Linked DNA regions of Homo sapiens: regions 1, 2, 3 and 5 are each linked to region 4. Evidence: promoter capture Hi-C in 16 types of primary human blood cells and fetal thymus (Javierre and others, 2016). All regions are on one chromosome and are shown on one strand. Each heading gives the region's core, a stretch centred on a gene start or on the middle of the fragment in contact. The rest is flanking DNA. Distances are from core to core; before and after follow the strand shown.

Evidence for each region. The method cuts DNA at HindIII sites, captures the fragments that hold promoters and counts their contacts. A CHiCAGO score of 5 or more calls a contact.
Region 1: a contact is called between a fragment that was not itself captured here and the fragment with the promoter of LINC01386 in region 4, in 1 of 17 cell types (M2 macrophages). The highest score is 5.5, in M2 macrophages.
Region 2: a fragment that was not itself captured here is called in contact with the fragment with the promoter of LINC01386 in region 4 in 1 of 17 cell types (M1 macrophages); the score reaches 6.2 in M1 macrophages.
Region 3: a fragment that was not itself captured here is called in contact with the fragment with the promoter of LINC01386 in region 4 in 1 of 17 cell types (M1 macrophages); the score reaches 5.4 in M1 macrophages.
Region 5: a fragment that was not itself captured here is called in contact with the fragment with the promoter of LINC01386 in region 4 in 1 of 17 cell types (M2 macrophages); the score reaches 5.8 in M2 macrophages.

The regions. Positions count from the first base shown.
Region 1 is chr5:73,107,004-73,111,534 of GRCh38, forward strand. No RefSeq gene overlaps it. Among named protein-coding and RNA genes, the nearest start is that of TMEM171, 11 kb to the right of the region's middle. The HindIII fragment of the contact is 2,185 bases long and covers 677-2,861 here.
Region 2 is chr5:73,158,379-73,163,251 of GRCh38, forward strand. No RefSeq gene overlaps it. Among named protein-coding and RNA genes, the nearest start is that of TMEM174, 12 kb to the right of the region's middle. The HindIII fragment of the contact is 2,982 bases long and covers 2,119-4,873 here.
Region 3 is chr5:73,178,439-73,183,506 of GRCh38, forward strand. No RefSeq gene overlaps it. Among named protein-coding and RNA genes, the nearest start is that of TMEM174, 7.8 kb to the left of the region's middle. The HindIII fragment of the contact is 2,349 bases long and covers 1,308-3,656 here.
Region 4 is chr5:73,469,959-73,475,066 of GRCh38, forward strand. LINC01386 (long intergenic non-protein coding RNA 1386) reads right to left here and starts at 3,008. Exons shown (of 5, transcript NR_126410.1): 1 at 2,915-3,008; 2 at 1,927-1,989. The HindIII fragment of the contact is 6,957 bases long and covers 2,869-5,108 here.
Region 5 is chr5:73,198,624-73,203,603 of GRCh38, forward strand. LOC340090 (a long non-coding RNA gene) reads right to left here and starts at 3,338. Exons shown (of 3, transcript NR_134291.1): 1 at 3,195-3,338; 2 at 466-636. The HindIII fragment of the contact is 5,769 bases long and covers 1-4,980 here.

The DNA of each region.
Region 1 (4,531 bases), core at 519-3,018, 360 kb before region 4:
TTTTCTAATGATCAGTGATATTGAACATCTTTTCATGTGCTTAGTGGGGATATATGTATATCCTGTTTGGATAAATGTCTATAAAATTCCATTGCCCATTTTTTGAATCAGGTTGTTTGGTTTTTTTGTTTTTGAGTTTTAGGTGAGTTCTCTATATATGCTGGATATTAATTCCTTATTAGATATACGGTTTGCGAAGATTTTCTCCCATTCTGTGGGTTGCCTTTTTACTCTGTTGATAGTGTCTTTTGATGCATAAATTTTTCAAACTTTCATGAAATCCAATTTCTCTCTGTTTTTCTTTTTTGCCTGCGCCTTTGATGTCATTTCCAAAAAATCATTGCCAGTTGGGCGTGGTGGCTTATGCCTGTAGTCCCAGCACTTTGGGAGGCTGAGGCGGCAGATCACCTGAGGTCAGGAGTTAAAGACCAGTCTGGCCAACCTGGTGAAACCTCGTATCTATTTAAAATACAAACATTAGCCAGGCGTGGTGGTGCATGCCTGTAATCCCAGCTACTCTGGAGGCTTAGGCGGGAGAATCGTTGGAACCTGGGAGGCAGAGGTTGCAGTGAGCAGAGATTGAGCCACTGCACTCCAACCTGGGTAACAGAGCAAGACTCTGTCTAAAAAAAAAAAAAAAAAAAAAAAAAAATCATTGCCAAATCCAATGTCATGAAGCTTTTGCCTTATGTTTTCCTTCTAGTCTTAGGTGTTACATTTAAGTCTTTGATTAATTTTGAGTGATTTTTCTGTATGGTGTTAGGTAAGGTCCAACTTCATTATTTTGTATATGGATATTCAGTCTTCCCAAACCATTTGTTGAGAAGAATGTTCTTTCCCCATTGAATGGTCATGACACCCTTGTCAAAAATCATTTGGCCATACATGTAAGAGTTTATTTCTGGGATGTCAATTTTATTCAATTGGTCTATATGTATGTTTTTATGCCGGTACCACACTGTTTTGATTACTGCAGCTTTGTAGTAAGTTTTGAAATCAGGAAATGTGAGTCCTTCAGCTTTGGTCTTCTTTTTTAAGATTTTTGGCTATTCAGGATCTCTTGAGATCTCAAATGAATTTTAGCATCAGTTATTCTGTTTCTCTCCAAAATATCACTGGGATTTTGAGAGGAATTGCATCAAATCTGTAGGTCACTTTGGGTAGTATTGACATCTTAACAATATTAAGCCTTCCAACCCATGAACATGGGATGTGTTTCTGTTTAATTATACTTTCTTTAATTTCTTTCAGCAATATCTTGTAGTTTTTATTGTACAAGACTTTCCTTGTCTAAATTAATTTCTAATTATTTTCTTCTTTTTGGTGCTATTATAAATGGAATTGTTTTCATACTTCCCTTTTCAAATTATTCATTTTCAGTGTATAGAAATGCAAATGATTTTTGCATTGTGTTGACTTTGTATCCTACTACTTTGCTGAATTCATTTTATTCTAACAATTTGTGTGTGTGTGTAATATTTAGGATTTTCAGCATACAACACCATATTATCTGCAAACATTGAGAATTTTACTTCTTTCTTTCCAATTTGGATGTCTTCTATTATTATTATTTTTCTTGCCTAAATGCCCTGGCTAGTACTTCCAGGGCTATGTTAAACAGAAGTAGTAAAAGTAGGTATCCTTGCCTCATTCCTGATCTTAGAGGAAAAGTGTTCAGTTTTTCACCATTAAATATCATGTTTGCTGTGGGTTTTCCCACATGGCTTTCACTGTTGGTATAGTTTCCTTCCGTTCCTGGTTTATTGAGTATTTTTAATCATAAAACAGTGTTGAATTTTTGTCAAATGCTTTTTCTGCATCAATTGCGGTAACCACGTGTTTTTTCTCCTTCATTCTGTTAACATGGTGCATTACATTGGTCAATTTTCATATGTTTAACCATTCTTGCATTCCAGAAATAAATTCCACTTCATCATGGCATATGATCCTTTTAATATACTGCTGAATTTGGTTTGCTAATATTTTGTTGAGGATTTTTGCACCAATATCATAAGAAATATTGGTCAACAGTTTTCTTATTTTATTTTTTACTCTGTCCTTCTGGTCTGATAGTTTTCTTTTCTTACAGTGTCTTTGTCTGGCTTCAGTATCAGTGTAACATTAGTTTCATGGAATGAGTCAGGAAGTGTTCCTGCCTCTTCAATTCTTGGAAAAGTTTGAAAAGGATTAGTATTGTTCTTTTTTAAGTGTTTGGTAAAACTCATGGTGAAGCCATCAGGTCCAAGGCTTTTCTTTGATGAGACATTTATGACTACTGATTCAATCTCCTGACTATTTATAGGTGCATTCAAATTTTCTATTTCTTTGTGATTTCACCTTGCTGTAAGTTTTGTGTTCTAGGAACCTGTCAATTTCATTTAGGCTATCCAATTTGTTGATGTACAATTGTTCATAGTACTCTCTCAAAATCCTTTTTATTTATGTAGGATTGGTAGTAATATCCTCACTTTCATTTCTGATTTTAATAATTTGAATCTTCTTTTATTCTTAGTCCCTCTCCCTAAAGGTTTGTAAATTTTGTTGATCTTTTCAGATAACCAACTTTTGTTTCATTAATCTTTTCTATTTTTTGTATTGTCTATTTTGTTTATTTTTGCTCTGATCTTTATTATTTCCTTCTCTTTGCTAGCTTTGTTTAGGTTTTTTTTTTTTAATGTAAACATTTATAGCTATACGTTTCCCTGTGATCAGTGCATTTGCTGAGTGCCGTAAGTTTTGGTATGTTCTGTTTTTATTTTCATTCATCTGTAAGTATTTTCTAATTTTCTTTGTGATTTCTTCTTTGAAACATTGGTTGTTTAGCATCCTAAAGTTATAACATTCTAATTTGAATTTAGACAAGCTTAACCACAATTTTGTGAGTTTTCTAGTTTTACTTCTGATTCTGCTTTCTAATTTTGTCTTGTTGTAGTTACAGAAGATACTTTGTATGATATCTATCTATCTTTTTTTTTTTTTTGACCTTGTCTCTGTTGCCCTGGCTAGAGTGCAGTAGTGTGATCACAACTCACTGCAGCCTCAACCTTTTGGGCTCAAATGATCCTCCCACCACAGCCTCCAAAGTAGCTGGGACCACAGGTATGCACACCATGCCTGGCTAATTTTTTTCTTTTTTTTTGTTTGTAGAAATAAAGTCTTGCTATGTTGCCCAGCCTGGTCTCAAACTCCTGGGCTCAAGTGATCCTCCTGCCTTGGACTTCCAACATGCAGACATCTATTTTTTCAAATATATTGAGACAATTTGTGGCCTATCATATGATCTACCCTGGACCATGCCCCATGTGCACTTGAGAAGAATGTGTATGTTGTCGTTGCTGGGCAGAGTGTTCTGTTTATGTCTGTTAGATCTAGTTGGTTTATTATGTTGGTTTCTTAAGTCCTCTATTTTCTTGTGTATCTTACTTGTCTGGTTGTTCTGTCTGTTATTGAGAGTGGGATATGGATGTTTACAACTGTTATTTTACAACTTTCTATTTCTCCCTTTGATTCTGTCAGTTTTTGCTGAATATATTTTGATGATCTGTCATTAGGTTGTAAATGTTTATAGTTGTTCTAGTTTCTTAATGTGTTGAAACTTTTATTTATATTGCCCTTCTTGTCTCTTGTAACCATTTTTACAATTTAAAATCTATTTTGTCTGATATTAGTATAGTCACCTGTGTTATCTTTTGTTTACTATTTGCATGCAATATCTTTTTCCATCGTTTTACTTTTATTCTATATGTGTCTTTGGAGCTAAAGCAAGTCTCTTGTAGACAGCATGTAGTTGGATCATGGGTTTTGTTGCTGTTATTGTTGTTGTTTTTCAGAAAAAAATATTTCCTGCCAATCATCTCTGTCTTTTCATTGGAGAGTTTCATCCATTTACATTTAAAGTTATTACTAATAAGAAGGGACGTACTTCTGTCATTCTGCCATTTTTTTATATGACTTACAGCTTTTTTTGTCCCTTATTTCCTGCATTGCTCTTTTGTGTTTAATTGATTTTTTTTTTAAAAACATAGTGCTGTTTAAATTCTTTTCTCATTTCCTTTTGTGTATATTCTATACCTATCTCTTTGCAGTTAAATGTAAAGGGGATTACATGTAACATCCTAAAGTTATAACACTAATTTGAATTTAGAAAAGCTTAACCTCAATAACACACAAAGACTCTGCTCCTTTATGGCTTTATCTCCACCCCTTTCAGTTGTTGTTGTCACAGACTGCATATTCACACATTGTGTGACAAAAGCATAAACTAATAAATCTTTTAAATGCATTGATCTCTTCAATTATGTAGTAAATAAAATGTGGATTTACAAACCAAAGTTACAATAATACTAGCTTTTAAACAAATATTTTTTTAATATATTAATCTCTTAAATCATGCAGAATACAAAAAGTGAAGGTACGAACTACCATTACAACAGTTCTAGCTTTTCTCTCTTCTCCTTTTAAGACTCCCACAATGTGTATGGGCTGGAGGTGAAGGATGGGTGATATGGTTACTACTCTGCTAAGAGCTAAA
Region 2 (4,873 bases), core at 2,360-4,859, 310 kb before region 4:
GACAAACATTCAAATCATCGCAGCTGGGGAAAAAAATCTAAAGATTATCAGGACACCCAGGAAACTGCCTACCCAACCAACCTCAGCAGACACCAGCCTCGCTCGAGAACACAGGCAGATCACTTGCCTGCCAGTGCCTGCCCTTCATGGATGAGCAATTTTAAAAACACTTTAGGAAAACAGATTGTCCTCCTGCACTACCACTAAATCAAATAGCCTACTTTCCTGTTCTGAGATTAATCATCTGTAAAACAGAGGCCTTGCTTCTCACCAGGATATCAGAAAGTTCAAGCAAGAATACGGTGTAAAGACACAGAATCCATACTCCATACAGCAATGATCGCCACCGCCACCTACAATATTCTTGTTACTGTTTTGTTTTGTTTTTTTGAGATAGGGTCTCACTCTGTCACCCAGGCTGGAGGGTGGTGGCATGATCATAGCTCATTGACACCTCGATCTCTCAGGCTCAAGTGATTCTCCACCTTACCTCTCAAGTAGCTGAGACTACAGGCTGCACCACCATGCCTGGCTAATTTTTATATATTTTTTTTTGTAGAGGTGGGGTTTTGCCATGTCCTCAGGCTGGTCTTGAACTCCTGGGCTCAAGCGATCCACTTGCTTCAGCCTCCCAAATTATTGGGATCACAGGTGTGAACCACCACCCCCAGGCTCTTGTTATTCTTGAAATAAAATAAAATCTGAAGAATGAGGGGACAGTTTTGATTTTCAACAAGATCCATCCTGTAGCTAATAATAGTATAGTCATGATTCAACCACCCTGTCATTTTATTGTAAAAGTTGAATATAACCTTGAGGCTGCCATGGTCCAACACAATTCAAGTAAATATAACAGGTGAGTAGATAATTCCTATAATTGAGATTTCCCCCAAATATTCCCCCTAAATGACTTATAGACACCTGATGCTCATTTAAGTAGAGAATCTATTCTTAGGGTCGAGGTTCCGCGTCTGCTCCATCCAGGTCCTTACTGTGCAAGGATCCTCTTGCCGCATGTCCTTGAGGGGGTGGGGCCAAGTGGCATAGGTCACCCCATCCTCGTTGCTACTCCCTGCAGGTCTGCAACTGTGGCCCTCTGAAGGTACAGAGCTGCGCAGGGTGTGCATTTCTGACCGTAGTCACCCCTTGCCATGACATCTGCCTACTTTCACTGATCTAGCCCTAAAGACTGGAGGAATATCATGGAGGATGTTCCCGCCTTGTGCTGGACACCAGGACAGGTCTAGCACCTGGGTTTCTCAGAAGGCTTCCCAGCAGACTATGCATCCTGACCCTGTGTTCCTCTCACATCCACGTGGACCCATGAACCACCTTCCTCTGGAGTCTGATTTTGTCATCCGGACCTTTTCTGATTTTGTTGATCATCTCAGGATTGCCAGGTAGTGGTGGCCACTGACAGGGTCCTACAGTGCAGAGAAGAATGTCCAGGTCCCTTCTTGTGGCTTCTCTCTTTTCTCCCCAACCCCTCTTTCCTGAACCCCCACCTCCTGTGGTGCACCAGCGTAGGGGAGGCCACATGGTGCCATTTTTACCTAAATGTTTAGGAAGACATTCTTTTGAATTTTGGAAATCTTGAAGGGTTTTGAGACATGTATTTGCAAGTAAAACATGCAGGTTCCTGTTTTTCCATGTCACCCAAGCTTGTGGCTTTGTTTTGTTTTATTTTGCTTTTTATGTGCTATAAGTTGTTGAAATATTTTGGGGCTTTTTTGTTATCAGAGAACCTGGTAGTGTTCTGTCTGTAGTCTGATCCAAGTGAATATGGCCAATAGATTACCCTGCAGGATCACAGCACAAGCAGACAGATCTTTGAAACATGGGTTTGCCACTCTACCAAACTTTTGAAAAAAGACATTTAATCACACACACACAGCTTCCACAAAGCAATTTACTTCCAACCACAATGTGTTCAATCAAACGATTTGTTCAGAACTATATGACCACGCTTAGTTTCACTTCCCACCGCAGGTCTCTGATAACCTCTGAAAACTCTGTTTTTGTGGTTATACTGTCATTCATTATTCATCTTTTTAAACTATAATCATTTCAAAATTACAATTTTTAACGGGGAATGTGGATTGGTGGTTAAAAACAGGAAGCTTGATGTCTAAGTCTGAAAAGCAGTGAAAATATGTAAGAAACTCAGAAAAATTCAGAACCTGCCATTATTGTTGATTGTGACAGAGTGTTACCACCTGAGGACTCACTGAAAACTTGCCAGTAAAGAAGGATGAGGTTACTAACCAGCCACAAGTGAATGGGTATATAAACATGGTTGATCTAAAATCTTGGACTATATTTGGATGTTCACATGGACGAAAATTCAAGCAGTATCACAGACTGAACAGTGAAAAGTAAATCTCCCTCTGCAGAAGATTGTATTTTCCAAAGAGAAAGATGGTAATATTTCCTCTCCCAAGTGTTCTTCTGCAATGTGACCTTGACATTCCAACTATAGAAAGGAAGAATCGAATTCCCTTCCCTTTGTATCTGGGTTGGTTTAGTGACTTGCTTGAGCAATAGAATGAAATGAGAGTGATATTCTGGGACTGCCAAAGCCAGGTCATAAGACGCCTCACAGCTTCCACCTGGGACCCCAGGAGTACTTGCTCCTAAGACACTTCCTCTTGAAACCCAGTCCCCTGGCCGGGAGAAACCACATGGAAAGACACAGGTGAGTGCTCTGGTTGATGAGCCAGCGAAGCTCCTAGCATCAGCTGTCAGTCACATGAGTGAACCATCTTGATGTCCCACTCAGGTGAGCTTCTAGGTTCTGGCAGCCCTTGCTGACTGCCTGACAAAACTCAGCCAAGCCACATAACTGTTTTAAGCCACAAAATTGGGAGTGGATTGTTATATAGCAATAGATAACTGGAACACCCTCTCAGTTCTTCTGTCAAATTTATTTCATATTCTTTCAATGACATTTTATGCACAGACATTCAATGATGTGTATGTCTTTCCCCTTGCAAATAATGGCATAATAAGCACACTACAGTACTCACTCTGCTTTCTTTTTCAACCAATAACACATCTTAGAGATTATTCCATACCTGTGTATGTACAGCTGACTTGCTCTTTAACAGTGGAAGAGAACCTTATATTTTACCACCATAAGTTATTTAGCCAGTCCACTACTGATGGACATGTAGGGTTCCCCATCCCTGTACTTTGTTAGTACAGATAGTGATTCATTGTCTATTCTGCTAAAGTATCCTTTTGTAAGGTGTCTATTGTAAGTATGTAGGTTACATTCCTAGAAGATGTTTGTAGCTTCTTTAATTCTGTTGTACGTACATTTTGAATTTTAGTAAATATTGCCAAGCCCCCCAAAAAGAGGTTGTGTCAAGTTATACTCTTCCCCACTCAGATTTAAAGCTGTTTTCCCAGTGACTTGCCAAAACAATGCATTCATAAAGTTTTAAAAATGGTTTACCCTAGATTCTTATTCAAATTATGGATTTTATTGTGGAGAAGAAAATGAGCTTAAACTTTGATATCTATTTGATATCTTTGTATTGCTTGTTTGAGAAACTTCCAGCTATAATTGAATCACTCATTCTTGTCAAAATATTAAAAACTAAAATTGTATGAATTTGGGAAAGATGACATGAGCTACTAGGTAAAAAGGTGAGTTGAAGAAAAATAATTTTTTTTTTTTAGATAGAGTCTTGCTGGGTTGCCCGGGCTGGAGTGCAGTGGTGCAATCTTGGCTCACTGTAGCCTCCACCTCCTGGGTTCAAACAATTCTCCTGCCTCAGACTCCTGAGTATCTGGGATTACAGGCACCCAGCACCACACCTGGCTAATTTTCCTGTATTTTTAGTGGAGACAGGGTTTCACCATTTTGGCCAGGATGGTCTCGAACTCATGACCTCAAGTGATTTGCCTGCCTCGGCCTCCCAAAGTGCTGGGATTACAGATGTGAGCCACTGCACTGGGCCAGAAAAATCAAGTTTAATGAGATTTCATTTTTATGAGATGTGTGAACCTGCAGAAGTAAAAAATATCTGGAAGTAGATATACAAAGTGTTAGTAAGAAGCACAGTCCTTCCTAATTATAAACCACAGTCCATCTAGCAAACGAAACATTGCCTGCAATTTCCTGAAAGGTCACTGTCACAAATGCTTTGGAAGGAGGTGGCACTGCTCTCCAGACATGGCTGAAGAAAAACTTAGGTCAAAACAGGCAGTCTAAACCAAAAAGGGTGCTCTTATTTAAAAAAATCTGAATGTGCTAAAAAGCCATATATAAATAATTAGTGAGAGATTAAAATTTAAATTTGAGTAAATATTGCCAACCTCCCAAAAAATTAATTTTGAACATTTTGATAAAAGCACAGACCGAAGGGATGTAACCATTTTACAGGTCTTTGTTCTATTTATGCAAAATGAATTTAGGTCAATTTGCTTAAAGACTAATTTGCTAAATGACCGATTGATTAACTTAAATTTTTTAAAAAGTATTTAATTTTAGTTGACAAGTTTTCTTTTTTCTTTTTCTTTTTTTTTTTTTTTTTTTGAGATGGAGTCTCGCTTTGCCGCCCAAGCTGGAGTGCAGTGAGGCGAATCCCCTGTCTCAGCCTCCTGAGTAGCTGGGATTACAGGCGCGTGCCACCATGCCTGGCTAATTTTTGTATTTTTAGTAGAGATGGGGTTTCACCATCTGGGCCGGGCTGGTTCTTGAACTCCCAATCTCAGGTGATCCACCCACTTCAGCCTCCCAAACTGCTGGGATTACAGGCGTGAGCCATCACCCCTGGCCTAGTGGACCAGTTTTCATTTGTCATTGTGAACTGCATCTTAAGACATGTCATTTAATCTCTGATTCAGTCAGTTCCTTTTATTTGCT
Region 3 (5,068 bases), core at 1,232-3,731, 290 kb before region 4:
GCTGATGTGGTCTAGATATCAGTAGTGTCCCCACCCGTCACAACCTGCACTGTTTGGAGTGACTGCAGCTCACACCACTCAGCATTTACTGAAATGTCTCACTCAGAGCCCTTTACGCAACCAATGCTTGGTTTCTGTTGAATAATAAATGTGATATGAATACATGAAAAAATGTTCAAATACATAATGAGTAACCATTCTAGCTTGTTAGCTGTTTTTGTTGTTTTTCACATTGCAAAAAATTTCAAACAAATACAAGCGTACATAAAAGAGTACAGGAAGACCTCATTTTATTGGACTTTGCAGATTTTTTTTTTTTAACAAATGGAAGGTTTGTGGCAATCCCATGTGGAGCAAGTCTCAGTGCCATTTTTCTAACAGCGTGTGCTCACTTTGTGTGTCTACATCACATTTTAGTAATTATTGCAATATTCCAGACTTTTTCATTGTTATTATATCAGTTATGGTGATCTGCAATCAGTGATCTTTAATGTTACTGTTGTAAATGTTTTGGGGCACCATCAACCTTGCTCATATAAGATGATGAACTTACTTGATAAATGTGTGCACTCTGACTGCTCCACCCACTGGCCATTCTCCCGACTCTCTCCCTCTCCTTGGGCCTTCCTATTCCTTGAGACACAACAATATTGAAATTAAGCCAACTAATAACCCTACAATGGCCTCTAAGTGTTCAAGTATAAGGAAGAGTCGCATGTCTCTCACTCAAAATCAAAAGCTCACTTGAAATTAAGCTTAGTGAGGAAGGTGTGTTGAAAGCCCAGACTGGCTGAAAGCTAGGTTTCTTGTACCAAATAATTAGCCAGTTGTGAATGCAAAAGAAATGTTCATGAAGGAAATTAAAAGTGCTACTTCAGTGGATACACGAATAATAAGAAATTGAAACAGCCTTATTAGTGATGTGGAGAAAGTTTGAGTGGTCTGGATAGAAACCAGCTACAACATTCTCTTAAGCCAAAGCCTAATCCAGAGCAAGGCCCAAATTCTCTTCAATTCTATGAAGGCTGAGAGAAGTAAGGAAGCTGCAGAAGAAAAGTTGGAAGCTAGCAGAGGTTGCTTCATGAGGTTTAAGGAAAGAAGCCATCTCCATAACATAAAAGTGCAAAGCGAAGCAGCAAGTGCTGATTTAGAAGCTGCAGTAAGTTATTCAGAAGATCTGGCTAAGATCATTGATGGAGGTGGCTACACTAAACAACAGATTTTCACTGTAGATAAAACAGCCCTCTAGATGGAAGACCATCTAATTCTTTCACAGCTAGAGAGGAGAAGTCAGTGCCTGGCTTCAAAGCTTCAAAGGAAGGGCTGACTTTCTTGACTTAGGGGCTAAAGCAGCTGGTGGCTTGAAGCTGAAGCCAATGCTCATTGACCATTCCAAAATCCCAAGGCCCTTAAGAATAATGCTAAATCTACTCTGCCTGTGCTCTAGAAATGAAACAACAAAGCCTGCATGAGAGCACATCTATTTATAGCATGGTTTCCTGATTATTCTAAGTTCACCGTTGACACCTGCTGCTCAGAAGGATCCCATTAAAAATATTACTGCTCATCGACCCAAGAGTTCTGAGGGAGATGTACAAGCAAATTAATGTTGTTTTCATGCTCACTAAGATAACGTTCACTCTGCAACCCATGGATAAAGGAATGATTTCTATTTTTAAGTCTTATTACTTAGGAAATGGATTTTGTAAGACTATAGCTGCCATAAATAGTGATTGCTCTGATGGATCTGGGAAAAGTAAATTGAAAACCTTCTGGAAAGGATTTATCATTCTAGATACCATTAAGAACATTTGTGATTCGTAGGAGGAAGTAAAAATGGCAACATTAACAGGTGTTTGGAAGAAGTTGATTCCAGTCCTCTTGGATGACTTTGAGAGGCTCAAGACTTCAGTGGAGGAAGTAACTGCAGACATGAAGGGAACAGCAAGAGAACTAGATTTAGAAGTGGAGCCTGAAGATGTGATTGAATTGCTCCAATCTCATGATCAAACTGGAATGAATGAGAAGTTGCTTCTTATGAATGAGTAAACAAAATTGTTCCATGAGATGGAAACTACTCCTGATTAAGATGCTGTGAACATCGTTGTGATAACAACAAAGAATTGAGAATATTTCATAAACTTAGTTGATAAGGCAGCAGCAGGGTTTTAGAGGATTGACTCCAATTTTGAAAGTTGACTTCTGCTGTGGGAAAAATGCTATCAAACATCATCTCATGCTACAGAGAAATCTTTCATGAAAGGAAGAGTTCAACCATGCAGCAAACCTCACTGTTGTCTTACTAAGAAATGACTACAGCCACCTTAACCTTCAGCAAACACCATACTGATTAGTCAGCAGGCATCAACATCCAGGCAAGACCCTCCACCAGCAAAAAGATTATGACTTGCTGAAGGCTCAGATGATCACTAGCATTTTTAAGCAATAAGCAACAAAGTATTTTATAATTAAGGTATGTACATTGTTTTTTAGACATAATGCTACTGCACCCTTAACAGACAAGTATAGTGTAAATATATATATATTTTTAGATGGAGTCTCGCTCTGTTGCCCAGGCTGAAGTGCAGTGGCATAATCTTGGCTCACTGCAACCTCTGCCTCTTGGGTTCAAACCATTCTCATGCTTCAGCCTCCCAAGCAGCTGGGATTATAGGCGCCCACTACCACGCCCAGCTAATTTTTGTAGTTTTAGTAGACACGGGATTTCACCATGTTGGCCAGGCTGGTCTTGAACTCCTGACCTCAAGTGATCTACCCACCTCAGCCTCCCAAAGTGCTGGGATTACAGGCGTGAGCCACCACGCCTGGCCCATAAATATACTTTTATATGCATTGGGAAACAAAAAAATTTGTGTGACTCACTTTATTGCATTATTTGCTTTCTTGCAGTGGTCTGAAACCGAGCCCACAATGTCTCTAAGTATGCCTGTATATGAAACCCCATGTATCTTTCATCCAGCTTCAGTGATTATCTACTCATGGCCAATCTTGTTTAATTTATACCCCCCACTCACAATTCCCCCAGTTGGATTTTTTAAAAGCAAATTCAAGCCATCAAATAATTTCAGTCTAAAATATTTTGTTGTGTATCTTTAAAAGATAAAGACTTGAAAGAATTAGAACACCATTATTATAACTTAAAAATTTACAATTATTTTTGAATGTCATCAAATACCTAATCAGTGTTCAAATTTCCCCAATTTTCCCCCATCTCACTCTCTCTTATTTTTTCTTCTTTGTTTGGTTTGAATCAGAATCCAAATAAGAATTACATTTTGCCAATTGCATCTTAAATTTCTAGCTGTTTCATACTATATTTTGAGAGGCAGATGGTTGGCAAACTATTCATGGTAGCAGATTCATAATTATTAAATTTTACTTTCCAAACAAATATGTTTTACAAGATTTTTCTCCTTCTCTATTAGTTCCCTGAAGCCCTACTACTTCCCTGGAATTAAAAACTTATATTTTTCCCACTTTTAGAATACTATTAGGGATTTTTCTAAAACCAGACTTAGAAAAAAGGAGAGAGAGATCTTCAAATGACTGTTTAGTTGAGAATTATCTGTTGCAGAATAATTTCAAGAGTATCAGGAAACCTTGGCAATCTTCAACATTTTTGGCTTGGTCAGTAAAGCTTTTTAGAAAAAAAATTATTGTTTTCCTTCAGAGATCATAAAAACCCCTTTGAACATCTCAAAAGCACGAACCAGTCTCCTCTTTCAGAAACACAAGAGCAAAGCCTCTTGCTTTACATTAAAATATTACCTGATATAATTTACCTCTCAGATGTTATTGACTGTGGGCCTCTTATCAATGAGCTCTCCATTTTTTGAATTAAAAATGAATATATTTTCTGGACATACCTACAGCTCTTCCTCTGAAAGTGGATATGAATAAGTGTATGTGTGTATATTCACCTACACCCTTATTATGGAATGTGATTTATGAATTTCTTGCCCACTTACTGCTTGTAAATCATCAAGAGTTTTATGTCCCAAGCAGTCAGCAGTGGTTATAAAATCAACAGAGGGATGTACTAAATAAACCTTTACTGGATTGCTCCTAAGGAATTGATGACAAGTCAGAAAGTGCAGACAGCTCCACTGGAATGATTCTCACCTGCCTTTGGGAAAGCACAAAGGTCTCAGATAGGGAAATTTTTTTGTCTTGAGCTTTTAAGATTAATTACCAGATGTTCTGGTAAGGAAATTAGTTTTCTAGGTTCCAGAAGTTTTCTATAACAAAAAAATTTGCCCTCTATCACAAAGCCTACACATGTGTAAATCATAGATGCAAACAAATATGTGCTCTGGAATTTGTGCTTATATACAAGGTATGAGAAGATAGAGATTTTCCTTTTCCAACCCTGCAATTCACTAGTTTAAAAGAACTAATTCAAAAGGGATATAGATACATATACACACATATGTATACATATAATATATATACAACTATATGTGTGTGTGTATATACTCATTTTTTTCAAATATATGAAATATCTCTTGAAGAATACATAAGAACTAGTGATAATTATTTCTGGAGTGGAGGATGGGAGACTCATTTTTCACTTTACTTGATGGCGATTAATGATTTTTTTAAACCATGTTCATATATTAACTGTTGATAAAATTATTTTTGGAATAAAGGAGGAAAAGAAGGAAATGATCTGTCTCTGTGTACTTCTGTTAATCTCATCTTCTTCAGTCCTGGCGTTTTCATTGCATCATCATGCCGCTGCTTACATATGTCATAGGTAAACATGCAAGACACATAGATACAAATGTGACATGTATGCATACATCTACGTGGACACAAATGCATTGTAATATGAATAACACTTTTACATGGACACATATACACAAAGCCTCTTGGGAGGGAGCAGAGGTTCATGTACATGAACGGTATTTCACATATATATACGTTGTTGCTAAAGTCCTCTGCTAGCTAATGGCAGTGTCACAGCAGCACACACAGAATATCAGATCAGATTACCCCACGAGTCTTTCTTTCTTTGATAGATTTCCCAACCCAGCCCTCGCTACCA
Region 4 (5,108 bases), core at 1,758-4,257:
GAGGCCTGGAGCTAGCAAACAAGACATAAGGCTTATGAGGACTTATGAATGGGGTGGTCCCATGGCCCATGAGGACTTACAAACAGAGGCGGTCCTATGGCCTGTGAGGACTTACATACAGGGGTGGTCCCGTGGCCTGTGAGGACTTACACACAGGGTCGGTCCTGTGGCCTGTGAGGATTACAAACAGGGGCGGTTCTATGGCCTATGAGAACTTACACACAGGGCTGGTCCTGTGACAGCAGGTGGACAGGAGAACCACTATTGTTTGTAAAAAGCATGCAGTTTATATAGCATTTTCACTTAGCACCCTCCACCTAGCAATCTCTATTTGACACAAAACAAAGGGCCTCAATCCCCTATATGGCCTGCATTTTAAGGGATAGGCCAGGGGTTTGGATGTCCCTTACAGATAAGGAGTGATTCTCTCGATTGGCCACTCCCGGATTCCTTAGCTTGGGACTTCAAATCCACATTCTTCTTAGACCATGGGGTCATTCTCAGAGTAAGCCTCATTTGTGGCTGTCAGGTACCTCTGCCATATACACCTCCACAGTCTTGTGAGGTGGGCAGATATCAGAAATTTCACTGGAAGTGTAAATAGATGTTTTCATCGAAATGTAAATGGATGTGATTCATCTAGAGCGCTGGTGACAGAGCCAAGTTAAGTTTCAGATTCCTGGACCACTTCTTTATCATACCCTATGGCTTACCAAGTAGGCCTGATTTTCTGTTCAATAAAGTCCTAACAGTACTATTCACCCTATCTGTCATGTATTATAGTATTTCTAGGAGAATATACATCTGGAATTCTATGATACCTCAGCTCCCACCCTCCCCTTCCACCACTATAATGAAGTGGGGGATCCTCTCTCTTTATATCCCTCCATCCAACACACACCTACATAAAGAGAGAAGGGAAGAGACTACGGTAAGACTGGGGTGAAGATCTGGATGGAGACCCAAAAAATGGAGCAGAGAGGAAATGAGCCTCTTTGGGATGAAGGTTCCAGGAGTTGCCGACTGTCAGGATTTCCTGCTAATGAATCTCCAAGCTGCCTCTCAGTCACCCAGCCCACCCACTTCCTTTACCATTGCCACTCTTAGTAGCTATTTTTCTTTTATTTTCTTTCCTTTTCTTTTGTTTTCCTTTCTCTTCTTTTTTCTTTTCTCTTCTTTTTGAAAGAGGATCTCACTCTGTCACCCAGGCTGGAGTGTAGTGACATGATCATGGCTCACTGCAGCCTCAACCTCCTTGGGCTCAGGTGATCCTCCCGCCTCAGCCTCCTGAGTTGCTGGGATTACATGTACATGCTACCATGCTCGGCTAATTTTTGTATTTTTTGGTAGAGGTGGGGTGTCGCCATATTGCCCAGGCTGGCCTCCAACTCCTAGGCTCAAGGATCTGCCCATCTCAGCCTATCAAAGTGTTAGTATTACAGGCTTGAGCCACAGCAGCTGGCCCTTAGTAACTTCTGAACAGAATTTCTCTCCTCTTTGGGCCAGTGAAGAAGAGAATTCAGACTCAGCATTCCGCCTCCCCAGACATACCTTTTAAAAACACACACACATCCTTAAGGTTTTTTTTTTAGCTTCTAAGGGTCTGTATTGCCAGTAACAACAGAGAAGGGGGCAGGGACTGAAAAGGCAAAAAGGCTCCACCCAGCACTCCCCTCTTTTGCTATTTCATTTAGATATTACAGAGAAGGAAGGAAGACATTTTCCCCACCCCTGAGTTTTCTTTGGGACTATCTGGGACAGAAGATCTCTCTGCAGCTCTTGTAGACCTGAGCATTTCATTTCTAGAGCTGAGATGTCAGGAGAGGAGTCTGGGATAAATGTGAGGAAATGGGATGAATGTTGCCAAGACTAATATTAGGGGTGGGTGGGGACTGAGAACAGCTGTAAGGCAATGTTCTTCCCTACCTTAGCCTCCAGAGCTCATGCTGGACCAGCTGGAGGATGTGAAAATCCAGAGGAGGTGAGGATCTGGGCCAAAGAAAGGGCAAGAAAGAAGGGAGATCTCAAGTCAAGCAATTGGAAGGAAAGGGAGGTTCCCATAGTGGACTCTGGGGCAGGAGAGATGGAAGGGTTGGGCATTTGGGCTCTCACACGTGTGTGGGGGTGGGGAGTATGGGGGTGCAGTTAAGGGACCTAGGTAACTGAGCAAAATTGGGCCTGTAAGGCCAATTGCAAAGCTCGCTTCTGCATGTAATGTGTGTACCATCTGTCTCTCCATGCCACTAGGAGCACTAATAAATGTTACATGTAGAAACTTTTGCACTAGCTTGTACATTAAAATTCCATATGCCAATTGACTGGACTACATGAGCGCATCTGTCAAAAACAGGTCTCTTAGGCCCAATTTAGGACATTCCAAAGCAGCTTTATAACTGCTTCAGCCTCCAAATGGTATGAATTAACTCTCATAAGCCAAGTCAATTCTCACTGAGTAAAGGATTCGGCCAAATGTCCAAAAAATTCAAGTCAAAAACACTCTCTTCCCTTTATTATAGAGAATATCAGTAGTAAGATCTTTTTTCCCCCAAAATTGTGCTGCTCATTGACTCCGTGTTTGATGTCATACTGTTAACATAAGTTAATATGGTCAAAATGATAAAATGCTTTATTGTATTATGGGCATGAAAAAGACCATATTTTGCATTTTTACAAAATTCTGTTTTTCCAGTTATATTTACAATTTACAGTGTATGCTGATATATATTAAGTGGTTAAATCTCAGGTGCCAAGTGTATTTTATTTTGAAAAAGTAAATATGTATAACTCCCAAGACAACCTGTTTAGACCCATTCTCTCCCGGCAATGGAAGATGCATAAAGAAGAATATAATCCTCCCTTTTAAGGTAAAGCTTAGATTTACACTTCACATGCCCAAACTCAGCACATATGTTACCTCTAGGAACTGGAAATTTTGCTTCTTTTCCTCATACTGATTTTTTTGTTTCTGTTCTTATTAACTTTTATGAAAATATCTTTAGAAAAGCAAGTATAAATACATGAATGAATAAATATATTGGATGATAGAATCAGAATCTTTAAATATCTCAACATGACAGAATAATGGGGAGATTCTAATAATGAAATGTAACAAGTATGAATGCCAGTCACACCTATGTTCCAGGAACAATTCATCATAACAGCAGGATATGTAAGGAAAGGCTTAGGGATTTCAGTTCACTATGCATAGACCTTTTTTTTTTTCTTTTTGAGACAGGGTCTTGCTCTATTACCCAGGCTGGAGTGCAGTGGTGCAATCATGGCTCACTCCCAGCCTTGATCTCTCAAGCTCAAGCACTCTTCCCACCTCAGCCTCCCTAGTAGCTGGGACTACAGCCATGCACCACCAAATCTGGATAATTTTTAAATTTTTTGTAGAGAAGGGGTCTCACTGTGTTGCCCAGGTTGATCATGAACTCCTGGCTTCAAGTGATCCTCTGGCCTCAGCCTCCCAAAGTGCTAGGATTACAGGTGAGAGCCACCACACCTGGCCCACTACTAACAGACTTTAGAGAGCCATTCAGGCTACTCCTCACCCCATGCAATCTTAGACTGTGTTACTAGATAAATGCTGTCTAAAAAAGGGGAAGAGATAACCTTTTTCTCCACTTTGTGTCAGAATACTATATTCAAATCTGGACACCTCATTTCAACAACAGATTGCAGGGATCCAAACAAAGAAACCAGCTTGGTGATCAAAAGAGTGCCTGCCCCTCAAGGACTCCCAACTCAGTGGGGTTGGTATTGACATAGCAGATACACAAAATGTATTCTAGATTGGTACCAAAACTATGGTGAGTAGATGGCTGTGACTGGGGGACTTCTCAATTGATTGCTCAGTCCATTAGAGGTGGCCTTTTTGTGCCTATTGGCTGTTATCGGCTGCCTTGAGTATATTGTCTATATTTGATCCTCAGTATTTTTGTGTGTGACTTGAGCTTTGAGAATTAAATTAAAATGATATATATTTTACTATTTAATCCTACAAAAGTTATTCAACTATCAATAAATATGTCAAGTGCTGAAAAGAAAAAATATCAACAATATCGGAATAAATAATGACTGTCTAGTTATTTTCTCAGCTGGGCCTAGTGGCTCATGCCTGTAATCTCAACACTTTGGGAGGCCAAAGCACAAGGATTGCTTGAGGCCAGGAATTCAAGACCAGCATACGCAACATAGCGAGACCCCCAACTCTACAAAAAATAGAAAAATTGGCCAGGTGTGGTGGTTCAAGCCTGTATTCCTAGCTGCTTGGGAGGCTGAGGCAAGAAGATCACTTGAGCCCAGGAGTTTGAGGCTGTAGTGAGCTATGATTATACCACTACACTCGAGCTACTCTGCCTCTTAAAAAAAAAAAAGTTATTTTTTCATATGAAGCAAAAGTTAAACATTCATGTTTAGAAAATCAGTTATTTTCAACTGTTGCTTTTGCTAGAAAAGTACCAGTTTTGAATTTTTTTTTTTTTTTTTTTTTTTAGATGGAGTCTTTCCCTGTCACCCAGGCTGGAGTGCAGTGGCATGATCTCGGCTCACTGCAACCTCCCCCTCTGAGGTTCAAATGATTCTCCTGCCTCAGCCTCCCGAGTAGCTGGGACTACAGGTGCACGCCACCACACCCAGCTAGTTTTTGTATTTTTAGTAGAGATGGAGTTTCACCATGTTGGGCAGGATGGTCTCACCCTCTGACCTCGTGATCCACCTGCCTGATTTTTTTCTTTCTTTTTCTTTTTTTTTTTTTTTTTTGGGACAGAGTCTTGCTCTGTTGCCAGGCTAGAGTACAGTGGTGAGATCTTGGCTCACGGCAACCTCCAACTCCCAGGTTCAAGAGATTCTCCTGCCTCAGCCTCCCGAGTAGCTGGTACTACAGGTGCGTGCCACCACGCCCAGCTAATTTTTTGTATTTTAGTAGAGATGGGGTTTCACCACGTTGGCCAGGATGGTCTCAATCTCCTGACTTCATGATCCGCCCACCTCAGCCTCCCAAAGTGCTGGGATTACAGGTGTGAGCCACCACACCTGGCCAGCCTTGAGTGATTTTTAAGAAACTAACTACAGGCAGGGCATGGTGGCTCACGCCTGTAATCCCA
Region 5 (4,980 bases), core at 881-3,380, 270 kb before region 4:
ACACTGCTGCCCTCTTTCCTGAGGTGGGGGAAAGCAGATGCCCACCTCAGTAGGGCAGATTTTTTTCTATTCTTGCCCCTTTTGGCATCATCAAGGTTGTGGTGGGACCTGGGCCTCATGGCTCCTGAGTCTTCCAATCCCTTTCACCCTTTGCATCCCACAAAGGACTGGGTGGGGAGCCCAGAAGGAGATGGGCAGTGGGAAGGAGGTAAAGAATGCAGAGTAAGACAGAGACCTTGCCGAATTGACTCTCTGGCTCTCATTGCTGTGACCTGAATTTCCTTGTCTGTGCAATGATCAGTAGCAGTTGCCTCCCATGGTGACTGGGATGAGGAAATCAGACTGAGAATGTAGGGGGTTGGCAAACTGCCTATACCAAAAAAGGAAACCTAGGGGACAAAGAGAGGTGAGTATATCAGGGTAGGCCAAGTTTTGCTGCAGTAACAAATAACTCTTCAATCTCACTTTGTTTTCATTCTCTTCAATCTCACTTTGTTTTCATTCATGCAGTCCACTGCGATCCAGGTGACTGTCCAGGCAGCTGTCCTCCAGGTAGTGACTTAGCCTGTGTTCATCCTGTGACTCCACCATCTCCATGCAAGTCCTCCATGTTAGCTGCAGCAGGGGAGGAGGAACCTGGAAAACCACACAGGGGTTTTCACTGTCTCAGTCCAGAAGCAATGTGTGACATTTCCATCCACATTACTGAACAGAACTAGCCACATGACTCTGCCTAGCTACAAGGGATCTGAGAAGTCGATGCTAGTGCACACCCAGGAAGCAGGAAAGATGAGGATATTGCTAAACACTAGTCATGCCTCCTGCAGGGAGGAACCTAAATGAATTGCTCTTGTCAGCCTAGGCTGTCAGGGTTTAAGACACTCTCCCCATGTTCAACTCTGAGAAGTTCTACCTTGACTTCCTTGTTCTGAGCTGGTTTTTCTCACTTCTAAGATGAGGAACTGTTCCTACATTTGATACAGAGTGGATTTTCCTTGAAATGGCCATATATGCAAAGCAACCCCCAAATGCTGAAGGAGCCAAGAAACTCAAGAATGAGGCAGACAACCATAAGACTGAGATAGATCTCCGCACTGCAACTGCCCACAGACCCAGGGCTTTTATCTTGGTGAAAGTATGTGCACTCTGGAAGAATACATAGGTGGCTACAGGCATCACATCCTATGATTTCTGCAACAGCACCAAGGATTGTTTTGGAGGAAACTTGAGAGTGAATAGATGTTCCTACATAAAGAGTAATACAACTTGACATTTTGGAGGCATTCCCGGAGTCGGGGTTAGTCAGGCGGATTAGCATTTAAAATAAAGTAACTCTTGTCCCCACAGTGGACATCCAAGGAAATGTAATGAAAAAATATCATTTGAGTCCTTTCTGAGAAACACAGGGGAGACACACCAGGGAAGTTACATGGGCCTTGAGGCGATTGTCACTTATACACCAGGTGATGGCTTTATTTGCTTTGAAACTCCCACAAACCAGAAAGAAAAATCTGTTGACATTTGGGCCTATGTTGAGATCTAATCAGTTATAATTCCCAGAGCTCAGAGCCCCTGTGCTCCACCAAACGAAGGGCATTTCTTGAGTTCTGGAATGATAGACACAATGCTGGAGTGCTTAAGAGCGAGAACCCGGGAATCAGATGGGCTGGATCTCAAACTTGGTTCTGCTGTCTACTGGCTCAGTGACTTTAGGCATTATACTCTTGCTTCACTTCCCTCATCTCTACATAGTATAATAGTCTATCTTCTTCAAAGTGTTGCTTTGGCATTAAATCTGTTAATGTATATAGTTTAGAACAGGACCTGACAAGCCAGAAACACTCAGTGTTGCTACCACAGTGATTATAGCAGACTCCAGCACATATCCCATTTCTGAGCAAAACTTACAAGAGAAGAGAATTGAAGATGACAGCATCATTTTTTTTTTTTTGAGTTGTTCTGGACGAGACAGGATGGAGTTTGGTTCTTTTTACCAGTCAATACAAAAACATATAATTAAAACACCATACTTGTGAGGACTAAGGAAGTTCCGTGCAAAACGGAGAATGAAATCCAGCAGTGAAGTTTTGTCAATTAAAATAACAGCGTTTTTAAATGAGAATAGAGCTAAATGTACCTTTATATTGCTATTGTTCTTCAAAAGTGGTCATATGTAGCTTTGTCTCAACATGGGAAATCAGACATGCAGCATGTTTTCAATTGTTTTTTTAAAATGGGTTATAGGATCTCACAATAATTTCCGAGTCTGTTTAGTAAGCTCATTTTTATGCAAAGAAATTATATTTGGGGCTGGGCGTGGTGGCTCACGCCTGTAATTCCAGCAATTTGGGAGGCTGAGGCGGGCAGATCACTTGAAGCCAGGAGTTTGAGACCAGCCTGGCCAACATGGTGAAATCCTTTCTCTACTAAAAATACAAAATTAGCTGGGCATGGTGGCGTGAACCTGTAGTCCCAGCTACTCGGGAGGCTGAGGCACAAGAATCTCTTGAATCCAGGAGGCGGAGGTTGCAGTGAGCCGAGATGGTGCCATTGCACTCCAGCTTGGGCAAAAAGAATGAAACTCCGTCTCAAAAATATATATATATATATTATATTTGGAAACAGAAAACCATCTTATTTACCTAAGAAATCATTTCACGATACCAGATCGTGGTGATGTGCATTTCTGAAACTCATAGCAAACTGGACCACTATGGGAAATAGATATCTGATTCCACTCTTCCTTCTAATTCCACATAAACCTCTTTCTATGTTAATTCCTGCTATTCCTGAAAAGTAAAGGTCCATTCCAGCCAGCACATTTCATATTTCTGCCCACACCTAACATTCACATTACAGATTCACTCTTGGCCTTGTCTTCTTATGATTGACTTTCACCTGCATATATCTGCAACTTGCCCTCGAGTTGCTGAAATCCCTTCCCAATTTCAAGAATCTAAGTCTCACATTATGATGCCATGTCCTGGGACAAGAGCAAAAAGATCAGGACCTCCCTAGCTGAAAAAAGCAGGTGCTTCTCAGAACCTGCACCCTCTTCAGAGAGAATACGGTGGCAGGCGCGCAGGGGACCCTGCCCGCAGCACCCATCTTTTAGGGAGCTACTAGGGCGTTCGGCAGGAAGCACAGTTGAGACGACCCACGCAGCGAGGCAGGACTCACGCCGAGTTTGTTACCTTTGCCCATCAGACCTGGTGGATTCTTTTGGTTCTGCAGGTGGAGCCACCAATGCCCAGACACCCTGCTGCAAAGTCAGGGTCCCTCTCGGCCTCGTCTTTCCCTCTCCCGTACCCCTAGGGCTGGATAGTCCTCGTCTGCAGAAGTTCGCCCTTTGCTGGCCCCTGTCCAGGCTCTCCTCTCGCTGGCCCACGTGATCCTTTCCTGCCAGTCTCCCCTGGCTCCAGCTTCCTCCACGCCCAGGGCTCTGCCCTCCGCCGGGCCGACTTCCCGCGAAACTGCAGCGGCTCCCCCTACAGGACAAAGGAGGAAACGCTAGCGGGGCCCCAGAGCCCTCTCCAATGGGACCCAAAGGGACACATCCCGGCACAGACCCTCCCCACTCTAAGGCAGAGCCTTTCGCAGGGCCTATCACAGGGCGGAGGGAGGGAGGGAGGGCGGCAGGAGGACTGCTGGCCTGAAACTCTGCTTTCACAAAGAGGTTACACTTCGAAGTTAGACCTCATCTGCAAATGAGGTTATGGACACGGTCCCATAGAAGCTGACAGAGGTTGCAACTTTATCTCTGGCCCTGTTACTGGACTACATTGCTTGTGGGGAACTGAGTTAATATTTTTTGTAAATTCTGTAATATTTTTTCTGAACAGAACAATTATATAGCATGTTTTGTGTTTCAATAATTTAATTGTTCAACGTAAACATATTTTTTAAAGACTACAGGTGGGCGTGGTGACTCACATCTGTAATCCCAGTACTTTGGGAGGTTGAGGCCAGTGGATCGCTTTTAACCCAGGAGTTTGAGACCATCCTGGCCAACATGATTTCCACTCCGTCTCTACCAAAAATACAAAAATTAGTCAGGGGGCTGAGGCAGAAGAATCACTTGAACCTGGACGGTGGAGGTTGCAGTGAACGGAGATCACACCACTGCACTCCACCTGGGTGACAGAGCAAGACTCAAAAAAAAAAAAAAAAAAAAAGAATAAATTAAAATAAAAAGGCTACAAAACTTTTCACCCCGTTTGAACATTTAAAAAATAGTTTTCTTATTCTGCTCTTTCGTTTCCTTTTTAAAAACTTCCGTATGCAGAATCCCTTAAAACCAAACCAAATGACCAGGCTTTTTTTCCTTGTCTCTGCCCTACTAGTGGTTCTCCTGTCCTCCCCAAAACCGTCCTCTCCTTTGAGATACTGTTCACTAGCTGGGCGTGGTGGCTCAGGCTTGTAATCCCAGCACTTTGGGAGGCCGAGGAGGGTGGATCACCTGAGGTCAGGAGTTCGAGACCAGCTTGACCAACATGGAGAAACCCCATCTCCACTAAAAATACTAAAATTAGCTGGGCATGGTGACGGGTGCCTGTAATCCCAGCTACTCGGGAGACTGAGGCAGGAGAATCGCTTGAACCCAGGAGGCAGAGGTTGCAGTAGGCTGAGATTGCGCCATTGTACTTCAGAGTGACAAGAGCAAAACTCCATCTCAAAAAAAAAAAGAGATGCTGTTCACCAAGCCCCCATTGCCCAGAATTCTCTCCTGCCTGCTGAGCTCAGGTCAGGCCTCACCTCCCAACCTCCAACCTCTCAGCCCTCCTACCAAGGCCACAGTGCATGACTCCTTGCCACCCTGAGCTGCAGGGCTTGTTGGCCCCTGTTGTTTAGGACTTAGCATAAACTACCTTGAATTTCATATTATCTCTCTTTCTGTTCAGTTGAGTCTTTCCAGCTCATTGCATGTCATCTTCACTTCTGTGCCCACAGCATCTCTCAATGTGCTCTGCACACGCAGGT